Linked DNA regions of Homo sapiens: regions 2 and 3 are each linked to region 1. The links are contacts of gene promoters, found by promoter capture Hi-C in blood cells and fetal thymus (Javierre and others, 2016). All regions are on one chromosome and are shown on one strand. Each heading gives the region's core, a stretch centred on a gene start or on the middle of the fragment in contact. The rest is flanking DNA. Distances are from core to core; before and after follow the strand shown.

Evidence for each region. The method cuts DNA at HindIII sites, captures the fragments that hold promoters and counts their contacts. A CHiCAGO score of 5 or more calls a contact.
Region 2: a fragment that was not itself captured here is called in contact with the fragment with the promoter of LINC01548 in region 1 in 3 of 17 cell types (neutrophils, monocytes and non-activated CD4 T cells); the score reaches 8.8 in neutrophils.
Region 3: a contact is called between a fragment that was not itself captured here and the fragment with the promoter of LINC01548 in region 1, in 3 of 17 cell types (erythroblasts, megakaryocytes and M1 macrophages). The highest score is 5.8, in erythroblasts.

What each region holds. Positions count from the first base shown.
Region 1 is chr21:33,168,162-33,172,850 of GRCh38, forward strand. It overlaps LINC01548 (long intergenic non-protein coding RNA 1548), which reads right to left and starts at 2,075. Exons shown (of 4, transcript NR_024102.1): 1 at 1,980-2,075; 2 at 1,535-1,672; 3 at 282-420. RefSeq lists an enhancer at 1,287-1,356. The HindIII fragment of the contact is 7,514 bases long and covers 1-4,689 here.
Region 2 is chr21:33,345,361-33,350,049 of GRCh38, forward strand. IFNAR1 (interferon alpha and beta receptor subunit 1) reads left to right here. Exons shown (of 11, transcript NM_000629.3): 7 at 3,731-3,930; 8 at 4,029-4,183. Among named protein-coding and RNA genes, the nearest start is that of IFNAR1, 23 kb to the left of the region's middle. The HindIII fragment of the contact is 3,016 bases long and covers 1,230-4,245 here.
Region 3 is chr21:32,999,023-33,003,711 of GRCh38, forward strand. No RefSeq gene overlaps it. Among named protein-coding and RNA genes, the nearest start is that of OLIG2, 25 kb to the right of the region's middle. The HindIII fragment of the contact is 235 bases long and covers 1,973-2,207 here.

The DNA of each region.
Region 1 (4,689 bases), core at 825-3,324:
CACACAAACTGAAAGCAGCTTGGAGCCAACACGCTATTGAACAGGAGGAAGAAATGAAATATGAGGCAGGAAAGAGAGGGTGGGAGAGGCCAGCTGATGAGATGTTTCGTGTTCCATGCTATAGAGCTTGGAATTTATTCTGTAGGCAATGAGATGCTTCTTCTCTAGGACTTAAAGCAGAAAAGTGGCATAGATAGATTTTCATTTAATACAGACCATCCTGGCTAAAATGTGTCAATGGATTACAACAGAACAAGATTAGAGGCAAATCAACTAGGTACCTGCTGTGAGCAGTCCAGATGAGAGGTGGTGCAGCTGTGACTTAGGGAAGTGGTGCTGGATGGGAAGGAAGAGACTTGGGGAGTGTTCCAAGGGTGTCCGCGCTTGAGCTCCCCACAGAAGCAGGACCTGTGACAAGGGCTGATGTGCAGGCTGTTTAGGAATTGATGCCAAGTAACAGCAATGGGGGCTGGGAGGAGTGAAAGAGGGAGGTGGGCTTGGTGTGGTGGCTCACACCTGTAATCCCAGCACTTTGAGAGGCTAAGGCAGGAGAATCGCCTGAGGCCAGGAGGCCAAGACCAGCCTGGGCAACACAGGGAGACCGCATCTCAACAAAAAGTTTTAAAAATTAAAAATTTTAAAAATAGTGGGAGGAGAAAGAAGCATCCCAGTGTGGTGTTATTGGCCTGGTTACCTCCATGGGCTGCTGGGACTGGATCCCCTGGAGACCCCCTGAGGAAGCGTGTGAAAGATGCCTCAGAATTGTCCACCCAAGACATGGATGGAAGACAGATGAGCTCATCAGCTCCTGCCCCTATTGGTCAAAGTTTTCCCCCAAGGAAAGCCACCTCCCTTGAGCTTCCAAGTTTACACACAAGCCAGTATAGCTAAGCAAGTCCCCGCAGGCTTGGACAGAAAGCCTGCCACAGCAGATACCCACTGCCACAGCTGTCAGGTGACAGCTTGTTGCGGTTGTCAGAGCAACGCCCAGGAGCAAAAAAGGCGAGCCAGGTCAGGCGCAGTGGCAAACTCCTGCAATCCCAGCAATTTGGGAAGCCAAGGCAGGAGGATTGTTTGAGGCCAGGAGTTCAAGACCAGCTTGGGCAAGAAAGAGACCCCTGTCTCTACAAAACATAAAAAATTAGCCAGGCATGGTGGTGCGTGCCTGTGGTCCCAGCTACTCAGGAGGCTGAGGCAGGAGGATAGCTTGAGCCCAGGAGGTCAAGGCTGCAGTGAGCCATGGTCGTGCCAGCACACCCTAGCCTGAGTGATAGAGCGAGACCCTGTCTCTAAAAACTTAAAGAAAAAAACGGTGAGCCAAGAGCATGTGAAAGGAGCGTGAAAGGAGCATGAAAGGGAGGTGGGCAGAAGAAGCTGGTTGGATAGAGGAAGTGAAAGGAAGAGGCGCATTTGTACAGACAGCCGCCCTTCTGGACCGAGTAACCACGTGGAGAGTGGTTCTCCATCCACCCACATAGGACGCACAAGGAAAAGAAGAGGTTCCCAAAGATAAGGGATTTCATGGGGAAAATACCTCATCGAATGGACTGCGACCCTCAAGGGAAGATGTTCCATAAGCTCGGCGCGAGTCAGGCAGTAGGGAGAGGTCTTGAGATCACAGGTGAAGTGAAGGCTCCCAGGAAGGGTGATTGCAGGGCGAGGGCCTCCTGACCTGGAGACAGGGCCCCAAGGAACAGTCATACGAAGAGGGCAGAGGACAAATGAAGAGGGAGTGGACAGAAAGAGAAATGGGAGGAGAGCCATGTGCCAGGAGCCAAGTGATTTAAATGCAGGTGTAGTGCCCTGGAGAGTTCCATGTGTAAGAACAAGTAAATCATTGTTGCTTACCTCTCCCTTGAAAAAAAAAAAATACCCTGCTTCTTGTCCTAAGTTCCCAGGCTCTCTTTTTGCCTACTCCCTCCCCAGTTGCTGAGTCCAGTCAACCCTCCTGCTACAGTATCCCCTATAGCGCCATTCACCTGCCCTCCTCTGCTCCCTTGGCCAACATCTAGGTTCAGAACCTCATTGTCTCTCTTCTGGTCTGTCCTGCCTCCTCCTCCCTCTGCTGCTGTCCATCCAGGTGGATTTTCCTAAAGGGAAAAGGTGCACTTGAGGGCAAATTTCTCTTGGCCATGCACTTAGGAGGGGGATTTCTGGGTAAAGGGGTAAGTTCACTGCTTTTCTAATTCTCTACTTTTTCCTTATCCTCACCCATAAATCTTACAACCCCCTTGAAGTGCAATAACTTTATTTCTAGGACCTCTCAGAGCCTTTGCCTGTGCTGTTCCCACTTGCCGGGAATGCCTTTCCCTTCATCCCCAATAGTTCAAGCCCCACCTTTTCCTGAGCCCAGCTCAGATGCCACCCCCTCATCCAGGAAGGCCTCCTTGATACCTCCCTACCAGAATTAATCTCTCCTTCTCTTGTGGTCTGAAGACTCTTGGCTTTCTCCCCTGTCCTATTTTTGCTTGTTATCACTGACATTGCTTTACACGCTTTTTCTCCTCTGCTGGGAGCAAGGGCAGTTTCTATGTCACAATGCCCCACTATGCCCATTAAGCTACAGTGCACATGGTACCCATCCCGAGACCAACATTCTTTTTACACTTCTGTGCTTCTGACCTAGGAAAGTCTTACTTTTCATAGAGTGTCATAGCTGAGTTGGAAGCTCTTTTCTTAGAGCCTCTTAAAATAATGGCGTGCCTTATAGTCAATGATCTCTTACATTCCATTAAATACAGTAGGAGATGTTCAACCAATATTTGCTAAATTGGAGGAGTTAAAGTCATTTTGAGTAGGAGAGGGAATCTAGACCCACTATTTGGATTAGTACAGATTTTAGTGCAACTCAGGGCTTCTGCAGAGCCCCTCCAGCTTTCACCTGTCCACTTAGTTGATGATGAGCACGCCTGCGAACTCTTCACACTTTCCAAACCCACCAAGGCAGCTTCTCCCGTAAGGACATGTTTCTTACCTTCAAGACCCCTGTTGCCTCCAGCAGCAATCTCAGTAATGACGTCTACTTCTGTTTCCTGCTTCCTTCTCCCTGACTCCTGCTTCCTGGAGTCCCCTCAGATAAACCTCCTGTGCCCAAGACCTTGTCAGGGTCTGCATTTACGGGAACCCAACTAAAATTCCAGGACCACCATATAAAGGTCCCTTTGTCGGGGGCTGGGCCTGCTCTGGATACGGTAGGGAAGTGGCTCCAGGGTCTGCGGCCAGCGAGGAGAGGGTCCGGCAGTCACCAGTGGGAGCTGTTTCCTCCCGTATTCCTCCCACCTGTCCCTACCTGTCCTGCTGGCGGGGTAAAGAGTGGGATTTACCTCGTGACAGCTGCCTTACAGCCCCATGAAAAGGCACTTTGGGCTGCGGTTGGGGGGAGCGCATCTCCAGGGATTGCAGGGTAGGAGGACAAGAACTCTCCCTGGCCTGGGAGTCAGGGAAATGGAGAGATCAGAGCAACACAAGTGCTGGGAACAGATGGGGCTTCCTGGGCTCCAGCGCTAATTAACCAGCTCTGCAGCTCAAGGCCTGGGCCTCATGATAGTAGTCTGAGGGCCCCTGGGGTGCAGGGTTGAGCACACAAGGCTGCACACAGGCAGAGGGAGAGGGGTGATCCCGGGAACAGCCATCCCTCCATTCCCTAATCCAGAGGCCGCTGCCCTTCTTGGGCCAGAGAGCAGCAGCTTCTAATACAGATCTGGGCTTCTCACTCAGCAGGTGCCAGGGACCCAAGGAGACAAATGGAGGAAAAAGAGTGAGGAACTCCTGCCCCAAGGAGGCCGCTGCCACCGCCCACTGGCCGCATGCCAACTGGACCCCAGATGATAAGCGTGAAACTCCCAGAGGTTGAGATTGGGAGACTCTCCTCCTCCCTGCCTTTCATCTTGTGTCCCCTCTCTTGTCCCTTCCTCACTTGCAAGAACAGAACTCATTTGATGTGTTTCCGCTACCAAATCAGAGCAGTGAGTGCAGAGTTGGGGAGGAAATTGAAGGGAAACAATTCAAACTGTTTCACTGGAGTTGCAGGCGCTGATAAAGGCATCTTCGTTAGTTAATGAGTTAATTTCTGATAAACCTTAGATACCTAAAATAGGCTACATATTATATGGCCTAAATTGATTCCTAATTAACACTTGAAATGTAATCACAATCAAGGTGGCTTTTTAAATTGTGGGCAAGAGAAAGAAATACATCTCAGACACAAAACAACCTGTACTTAACACTGCCATAAAGTGGATCAGGCTGTATTTATATTTATGTTTGTATTGAGGCTGATTTTTCTGATTCTCTCCCAGTTTGGGTGTTTTATCTCTGAATCCCCAGTGCATAGCACAGTCCTGGCTTGTAGTAGGAATTAGCAAATATCTGTTGAATACATAAACCCTCTTTTCAAAATACAGGACCAGAGCATAGAAACAGAATAGCTAATGTACACTCTTTTGTTGAATGGGGCAAGCACAGCCCAGGTAGCAAGTAAATAGTGACAAAATAATTCTGGAATTATCTCCCATCCACAAGCCAGGATCCAAAATAAATGTCCTTTGTTCTACATTGTTATTGTTTTTTAAAAGTCATTTTCTTTTATCTTCTAAGATACTTATGGATAGAATAATATAAAGTCTGGATTTGCTTCAAAATACCTTAGCAGACTGGGATTATAGATGAGACAAGACCAGCTGTGTGGGA
Region 2 (4,689 bases), core at 1,488-3,987, 180 kb after region 1:
GTAAGTTCCATTCCATAAATTTCCTTTTGCCCAGTTTGTTTTGATTATGCTTCTTTTCGCTCTGCATCAGTCACCAGGTCCTTGCACACAGAATGACCGACTGGGAGGTGGGTACGATATATTGGAAACGTGAGAAATCTCATTTCTAACCCCAGTTCTGCCAGTAACTAACTGGATGACATTGAGCTAATCGCTTAACCTCCATGGGCCTCAATTTCTTCACTTGTAAAATAGATGGATTCTAATATCTGGGGTTCTTACTGGCTTAAGAAAAAAAAGAAAGTGTAACTAGTTGCATGTGTTATTTCCCCAATCTGGAAGACTCGACAGTTGACCCTGATCTTTTTCTAAGAACTCACTTCTTCCATGAGTCCTTAAAATGATCTCAGTCCACTCACTTGTTCAATTCAAAAAATTAGCCTTCCTATTTTCTTTATTACTTTAGTGGTTTTGACAAAATTTTGTAGTAGATACTTCGGTGGGAAAGAAAGTTGGAAAGAACTATGTTCTATGTGGTTGAGCAGAGGCTAGCTAAACATGGATGAAGTCCAGGCGCTGCATAAATGAAAGAGAACTGGCCTGGTGCAGTGGCGCATGCCTATCGTCCCAGCTACTCAGTGGGCTGAGGCAGGAGGATTACTTGAGGCCAGGAATTGAGGCTGCAGTGTTGTATGATCACACCTGCTAGTAGCCGCTGCACTGCAGCCTGGGCAACATAGTGAGACCCCCATCTCTAAGCATTAAAATTTTTAAAAAGCTGATAAAAGAGAACTGCATGTAGTTTATATTGATTGGAAAATTGTAGGAGATGAATAGAGAAAAGAGAAGAGGAAAATTAAGTAGAAGGAAAAATGGGTTATGGGGAGAAAAGAGATGGAAAGAAAGATATACATTGGTGGCAGAGGAGTAGAGAGAGCAAAGGCAAGTATAGCTAAGACAGGAAAGGAAAAGTCAGAAGAAACTGGAAAGAAACAGAAAAAATGAGGGAGAAGGGAAGTGTAAGTACCGCTATGATCAATTTCTATCTTTTAGTGTTAATTTTGAACCAAGGGTGACTGGTAGAATGCAAATGCATTTATGTGCATATGTGCCCCACAATGCATATATAACCTCACAAACCAATCAGGAAACTGTTCAGTAGTCTTTTGTGTATACCTCACTTTCAGAAGTGAATAAATAATAGGGTCACCAAATAGATAATGAGAGGTATTTCTGATAGCTGATCTCTAAGCTTCTTTTGGGTACTTACCATATTGTACAAAGCACTGAAGAAATGGAAAGAGTCAGCAGAATCAAACGTGGTTCAAAAATTGAAAGCAGTTAGCCAACATTGCAAAGTGTTGTGTGGTTTAGGACTAAAGAGTGGTATACAAATTATAAGGGTTGCAGAAATTGAAAATGTAAAGGTGAATAGGGGCTAAAGAGACCAAAGAAGCCATAAGGAAAGAGATAAGGTATGAACAAGGCCTTGATTGTTAATTCAGATTTTTTTTAAGTAGACAACTATTAGATGTTAGTTTTCTGTGTCTGTAACTAATTACCACAGACTTAGCAACTTAAACAGCTGTTTATTGTCTCAAAGTTTCTGTGAGTCAGGAGTCCAAGCGTGGCTTAGCTGGCTCTTCTGCTAAGCAGTCAAGGAGTCAGTCATTCATACAAGACTTGGGGGCCGCTCCCAAGCTCACATGTTGTTGGCAGAATTTATTTCTAGAGCTCATGGTGGCTCACTTCTTAGAGGCCATCAGGAAGGGAGAGTCTGACCTCTAGATCCTTTTTTTTTTTTTTTTGAGACGGAGTCTCACTCTGTCACCCAGACTGGAGTGCAGTGACATGATCTCAGCTCACTGCAACCTCCGCGTCCTGGGTTCAAGTGATTCTTCTGCCTCAGCCTCCCAAGTAGCTGGGACTACAGGTGTGCACCACCACACCCAGCTAATTTTTGTAGTTTTAGTAGAAACGGGGTTTCACCGTATTGGCCAGGCTGGTCTCGAACTCCTGACTTCAGGTGATCCACCCGCCTCAGCCTCCCAAAGTTCTGGGATTATAGGCGTGAGGCACCGCGCTCAGCCATTTTTTTTGTATTTTTAGTAGAGACGGAGTTTCTCCATGTTTGCCAGGCTGTTCGCAAACTCCTGGCCCCAAGTGATCTGCCCACCTCAGCCTCCCAAAGTGCTGGGATTAGAGGCATGAGCCACCATGCCTGGCCTAGATCCTCTTTTAAGGGGTTCATCTGATTAGGTCAGGCCCACCCAGAATAGTCTCTCATTTGATTCAACTGATTTGGGACCTTAATTACATCTGTGAAATACCTTCTCTTCTGCCACTTAATGTAACCTAATTATGAGAGGAGGGCCTCCATCGTATTTACAGGTCCTGCCCATGCTCAAGAGGAGGGGATTATACAGGATGTGTACACCAGGGGGCAGGAATCTTGGGGGCCATCTCAGAATTTTGCCTTCTCCAGTGGGGAGGATGTCCTTCTAGAGTAGCAGAACATTTGGACACCAGGTGGCAATGGGAAGAAAGCTGAATAAGTAGAATGGGACAAGATTAGGGTCAACCTCAGGCTGTCCTGTAGGCTTTTGGGGATTTTGTGTTGGGGTGATAGTTAACCTGAGCTCTGGATTTGAGGAAGGTGCATGCGGCGACATGGTATGTGGGAGAGTGGACTAAGGAGACACTAAAGAGAGATAAGGAAACCAGTCAGGAGGCTATTAGAGTTCTGGGCTTGAACTGAGATGCTTTTAGCTGTTGGTTTCTGGGCAAGTTACTTAACCTCTTTAGTCTCGTACTTATACTTGCTCTTATAACCCCGCAGTGTGTCTCTATTTTAGCACTTAATCAGTGTCCATTGGTATGCTGGCGCATGTTTAGCAGCTGGCTTTCCAGAAAGAAAAAGTCCTATTTTGTAGTGTTTGCTGATTTTTATGATATAAATATTCCCACCATGGCCACTTTCAAGCCACCAGCCTGATGTCCCTGAATATGGAGTTGGGAACATATGCACAGTAGCACACCACTATCATATAGCTACAATAGATAAAGATAGCCCCAAGAGCTTAGAAAATAAAATGTAGTAAAATAATTAGGACAAGATGAATTTATTTATTACCTCTGTCTTTAAAACAATTTTTTATTTGCAAATTTATATAACTTAATTTTTAGTAATGGTTTTTCTTTAAAAACCAGTTTGTATTTTAGGAGGCCGAGGTAGGTGGATCACCTGAGGTCAGGAGTTCAAGACCAGCCTGGCCAACATGACGAAACCCCATCTCTACTAAAAATACAAAAATTAGGCAGGCCTGGTGGCGTGCACCTGTAATCCCAGCTACTCAGGGGGACAGAGGCAGGAGAATTGCTTGAACCCAGGAGGCAGAGGTTGCAGTGAGCCAAGATCCTACCACTCCACTCCAGCCTGGGTGACAGAGCGAGACTCGGTCTCAAAAAAAAAGCCAAAAAAAATAAACCAGCTTGCAGCATTCCTGGAAATTCTAACTAACAGATGTTCTTGCATATTGATATGAGCCACCTCCAGCAGAGCACAACATGACCACAGTCTGGAACAGTCTTTGGTTTTCTTTTATGTTAGATGCATATCTCTTCCATTGTTTGTGAGTTTCCTGAGTGTGGATACTATTTATTTCTGTAACCTTAGCCCCTAACATAGTGTCTGGCAATTGTAAATACTTAATAAATATCTAATGAATTTAAAAAATATTTGTCTTAAAAGCGCCTTTTTAAAAAGGAATCCTGGAAACCATTTGTATAAATGGAAACAAATACCTGACTGTGAAAATGTCAAAACTACCCAGTGTGTCTTTCCTCAAAACGTTTTCCAAAAAGGAATTTACCTTCTCCGCGTACAAGCATCTGATGGAAATAACACATCTTTTTGGTCTGAAGAGATAAAGTTTGATACTGAAATACAAGGTAAGGCAGTAGTTTTTACTGGAGATTGTAATTCTCTGGTGCAAGTTTTTAAAATTGTTTTTCTAATTGAACATTATTTCTTTACAAATTTTTTCTAGCTTTCCTACTTCCTCCAGTCTTTAACATTAGATCCCTTAGTGATTCATTCCATATCTATATCGGTGCTCCAAAACAGTCTGGAAACACGCCTGTGATCCAGGATTATCCACTGATTTATGAAATTATTTTTTGGGAAAACACTTCAAATGCTGAGGTAAAAAGACTGTATAGTATAATTTTGTAACTTAGAGTTATAATTATGATTTGGGTAAATAAAGCTTGAATGTAAAATTTGGGGGAAATTTTTAAACTTTATGTGGGCTGGATGCAGTGGCCTGTAATCCCAGCACTTCAGGAGGCCAAGGCGAGAGGATCACTTGAGCCTAAGGGTTTGAGACCAGCCTGGGCAACATAGGGAGACCCTGTCTCAATAAAAATTTTAAAAAATTAGCCTGGTGTGGTGGCGTGCACCTATATTCCCAGCTACTTGGGGTGGGAGGGTCACTTGAACCTGGGAGGTCAAGGCTGCAGTGAGCCATGATCGTGCCACTGCACTCCAGCCTGGGTGACAGAGTGACTGACAGCTTGTCTTTAAAAAAAAAAAATGTGATTAACTCAGATATTAACAAAATGAAGATTATGAGCATTTTTCATGTTTTGCACTGTAGAGTTATGGGTGAGCTGCATCTGGGCCCCAGTTTGCTTTTAAAATACAGATTC
Region 3 (4,689 bases), core at 840-3,339, 170 kb before region 1:
TCTCCCTAAGATTGGAAATCAAGCAAGAATATCTGTTTTCACCACTCCTAATCAATATTGTGGTAAAGATTCTACCCATGGGGAAAAGGCAAGGAAAAAAAAAGACATTCATATAGGAAAGGAAGAAATAAGTACTTCCTTTTGTGACTGGCTTATTCCTTAAAGATGATCATTGATGGAGAAAATCCTAAAGAATCTATTAAACAAGACTATTAGACCTAACAAGTGAACTTAGCAAGGTTGCAGGATACAAGGTCAATATTTTAAAAATCAATTGTATTTCTATATACAACGAATAGTTGGGAATTAATACCTTCTATGATATCATAAAAATGTTTAGGTATAAATCTGATGAAAGATGTGGAGGGTCTATACGCTGAAAACTATAAAACGCTTCTGAGAGAAACTAAAGAAGCCCTAAATAAATGGAGAAGTATACCATATTTATGGATCAGGAGACTCAGGATTAAGATGTAAGTTCTCCCCAAATTGATCTATAGATTCCACAAAATCCCAACAGTTTTTAAAAATAAAAATGGACAAGCCAATTCTCTCTCTCTCTGACACACACACACACACACACACACACACACACACTGCACACCACACACCACACACCACACACACACTCCCCTTTTCTATCCATCTATTGGGCCATATGCACAAAGAAAGACCTGGACTGTTCTATAGCAAATATTAACTCTGGTTATGCTGATGGTAGGATTTCAGATAATTTGCTGTTTTCCTCTTACATTTTTCTCTCTTGCTCAAATTTTGTAACTGAATATTTCTGATGTTAATAAATAATAAATCACTATTCCAAGAAATGCTCCTCTCACAGTTTGGCTGCTTTATCTTTGCCATAAATAATTGCTAATCAATCTTGAAAGGACAGATAAGTAAATACTGAATTGAAGAGTCTCAAAGGGAATCCTGCACAATATACTCTCAAAGTACTGTACAGGAGTCACTTCAACCTTAATCTCTTTCCTTACATGGAGTAATTTGGGATAGAATCAACCAGTGATTTCTCTTATTGAAGGATTAGGCCATGTTGTTAATAAAGTGGCCATCTAGACAATGAAAACGAAATAAGTATTCTCTCGTCAATTCCTAGGTAAGTGATTTCTGGTCATTTGAGAGTAAAAAATGCTCATCAATAGTTTTGTCACTTTATTTAAGCTGCCTTAAGAGTAAGGATTATGTTTGACCCAGAAAACCTTACCAGTGTGGTCGAGACCTCCAAGAGGGTTATTGTCCTCACATAGCAAGAAAGCACGAGGTAAGCAGTGTAGGGCTAGAGTGGTTGCTTGACCAGCCATGTCCACTGGGACTCAGACTGGCTTGCTCTTCCTGCTCTACTAATCTTAACTTGAGGCTTTCCTTCTCTAAAGTCGAAAAATGGCTGCTGCTGCTCTGTGTATGATGCCCGTATTGCAGGCAGGAAGAGAGAAAAGAACCACAAGGCTTTTCCTCTCAATCTTTTGTGTTTTTGTCTGGGAATAGATGCTACTCTTTGGATTTCTGCCAACATTACATTGGCTAGAATGGGTCACATGGCCACCCTTAACTGCAAGGGAGTCTGGGAAGTTGGACATTTTAATATGGCCACAATGGCACCACAAAAAAAAATAAGGTCTTTGTTAGAAAGGAAGAAAAAGGAATGGGATTTGGGTAGGCAATCAAGAGGTCGGCTACACTGTCTAAAATGTTGCCTGTATTTTATTTTTAGTTTAAAAGTACAAACAAAAATGCCCGGAAATAGAAGTTTGATGTGCGTTCTTGGAAGAATGGCATGAGGAGTGCCACACTGAAGTTAGAGCATAAGGCCATTTCCTATCAGTCCTTGGGCAAAATCTGAGCTTTATTTCCTCCACTTGATATGAGATTAATAATACATAACCAGTGTAAAACTCACATAATTATAAGTTCCACTGGATACATGAAGAGTATTATTGTTGAATATTCCTAAAGCTTCCCATGAGTCATGGAATAAAAAGTGAGACAACAAAAATTTAATTGTGCTTGTTTGGTTTTTTTTTTTTTTTTTAAATAAATTGGTTTTGTTTCTCAGCTCATTTCATAGACAATTTGAGGCAGCCAACAATGCCAATACATATAGTAAAAAATAAATGTAGATTTTTAAATGGAGTTAAAGAGTAAGAATCAATGTGAGCTAAAATAAGAATATAAGAATTTTTAGTCTAAGCTTTCTGGCCACCAAAGTATAAAGGGAATATAGAACAATTTACATAATAGTCATTATCAGAGAAAAACATATCTCACCAGTAGATGCAAGTTTTCTTTATTGTAAAACAAATGTTTACATACTTGAAATCCTGTCTTTCAAAGGTAATCCTGGCATTTAGTTCAGTGCCTGATGAAAAGAATGCCCTGGGTAAATATTTATTGGATGGATAGATCCAAGATCTCTCTTCTAGCTACTTTGAAATATATGACTATTGTCACCCTACTCTGCTATTGAACATTAGAATTTATACCTTCTCTCTAACTACATGTTTTTACCCATTGTCCAACCCATGCATAGCTGGATAGATGGAAATGGAATAAAACTCTGCTACATATATTATGTGATTTCTCCTTATTAAAAATTACCATTTTTTGGAGAACAGGGACAGCTTTCTATTGAATGCTATAAACTCTCTCTCCAGAAAAGTGAATATATACACAGAAGTCTGCATATCATATAAAGGGGCTGAGAGATTCCCTGAAACTCATCCACAGATCACCTTGGGGGCTAATAGGTTTCAGCTGAGCAACCGTTTTTCATCAGCAGTGCAGGAGACAGTATAATGTAGCAAATAAAATACCATCCGAGGCATCAGACAGACTTGTCCGAATCCACTTGCTGTCTGGGTGAGAAAAAGAAAAGTTATATAACCTTTCTGAGCTTCAGTTTTCATAACTGTAAAATGTAGATAAAATGCCTACCTCATAGACTTGTTGGGAAAATGAAATGGCATAGTATATTTCTAGCACTTAGCATAGCACTTGGTACATACAAAGCCCTCAATAAATTAATCCCAAAAAATAACTCCCATTTACTGAGTACTTCTATAGGGCAGCACCTTGATGTCATTCCATCTTTATCTCAACCCTGCAAATTTGATCATCACATCATTACTCCAGTTTTATAGATGAAGCTGAATCACAAAAGTTCTGAAATTTACCAAAGCTCACACAGCCAGAAAATTACAGAAACAGAAGATGAGCCCAGGTCTTTCAGTACCAAGAATGCTAATATCAGGTTCTGTCTGTTTTTCCAGCCATTTTCCTCCACTTGTCTTCTGGTAGCTCATATCTATGACTCCACAAAGGACAGGGAAGAAGAGAAGCATCACACAGGCCGGAAAAATTTAATACCTACTGCCAGACCTCTAGTCACTGGTCTGGACTTATGGCCAAGGAGTGGCTGACACCTTGAGATACACATCTTATATCCTCAGCTGTCATTGGTTTAGTGGGGAGGCTCTTAGTCTGGCTAAACACAGGGAAAGCTGCAGCTACCTCTCCCATTAAAATAATTTGAAATCTCTTTATTTATTTATTTTTTTTGAGAAAGAGTCTCACTCTGTTGCCCAGGCTGGAGTGCAGTGGCACAATCTCAGCTCACTGCAACCTCCGCCTCCTGGGTTCAAGTGATTCTCCTGCCTCAGCCTCCTGCGTAGCTGGGACTACAGATGTGCGCAACTATGCCTGGCTAATTTTTGTATTTTTAGTAGAGATGGGGGTTTCACTATGTTGGTAAGGCTGGTCTCGAACTCCTGACCTCGTGATCTGTCTCCCTCGGCCTCCCAAAGTGCCTGGATTACAGGCATGAGCCACCGTGCCCAGCCAATAATTTGAACTCTTTATGCCAGGTTAGCAACCCATATGTCACAATGTAATTGGCAACTGTATCTTGTAGCCTGCCTAACATCCATTCCCCCTTCTAGTTGCCTCCATCTCATTTTCTTTTAACTATACTACCTTCCCATGTGCCTCTGAAAAAGTGAGCTCTCCCTTCTACTCCTGAATGGGCCCTGATTGGTGAATCCAATCAGCACATCCCATCCAACTGGCCACAGTGACTGGCTCAATGAAAAATAACATGAATCCAGCCAATGGAAGGTTAGGAGAGGTTTACTGGGAACTTAGCAGGAATAAAAGTGCTTGATCTTCTCATAAAACTGTCAGGAGCAGCTGGGCACAGTGGCTTACACCTGTAATCCCAGCGCTTTGGGAGGTTGAGGCAGGAGGATTGCTTGAGCCCAGGAATTGGAGGCTGCAGTGAGCTATGATTGTGCCACTGCACTCCAGCCGGGGTGACAGAGTGAGACCCTTAATAAATAAATACATTAATACACAAAATTTCTATTATAGTACTTTTAAATTACAGCACATAGTGTATGTATATCTATTACAGCAGTTACTGTATTTGTTCTTCTGACAATGTCCCTAAGTAGACTACTGTCTACATCTATTGTCTTAACCATTTTTCTATGCTCAGGGCCTAACACTAGTAGCATTTAACAGCTAGTGAAGAGACGGATGAACACATCCACATCCCTGCCAACACTGGGTATTTTCTGGGGTTTTTATTATAGTGGCCATCCTGCTGGGTATGGGGTGATATCTCATTGTAGGTTTGATTTACATGTCTCTCATGGTTAGTCACGTGGGGCATCT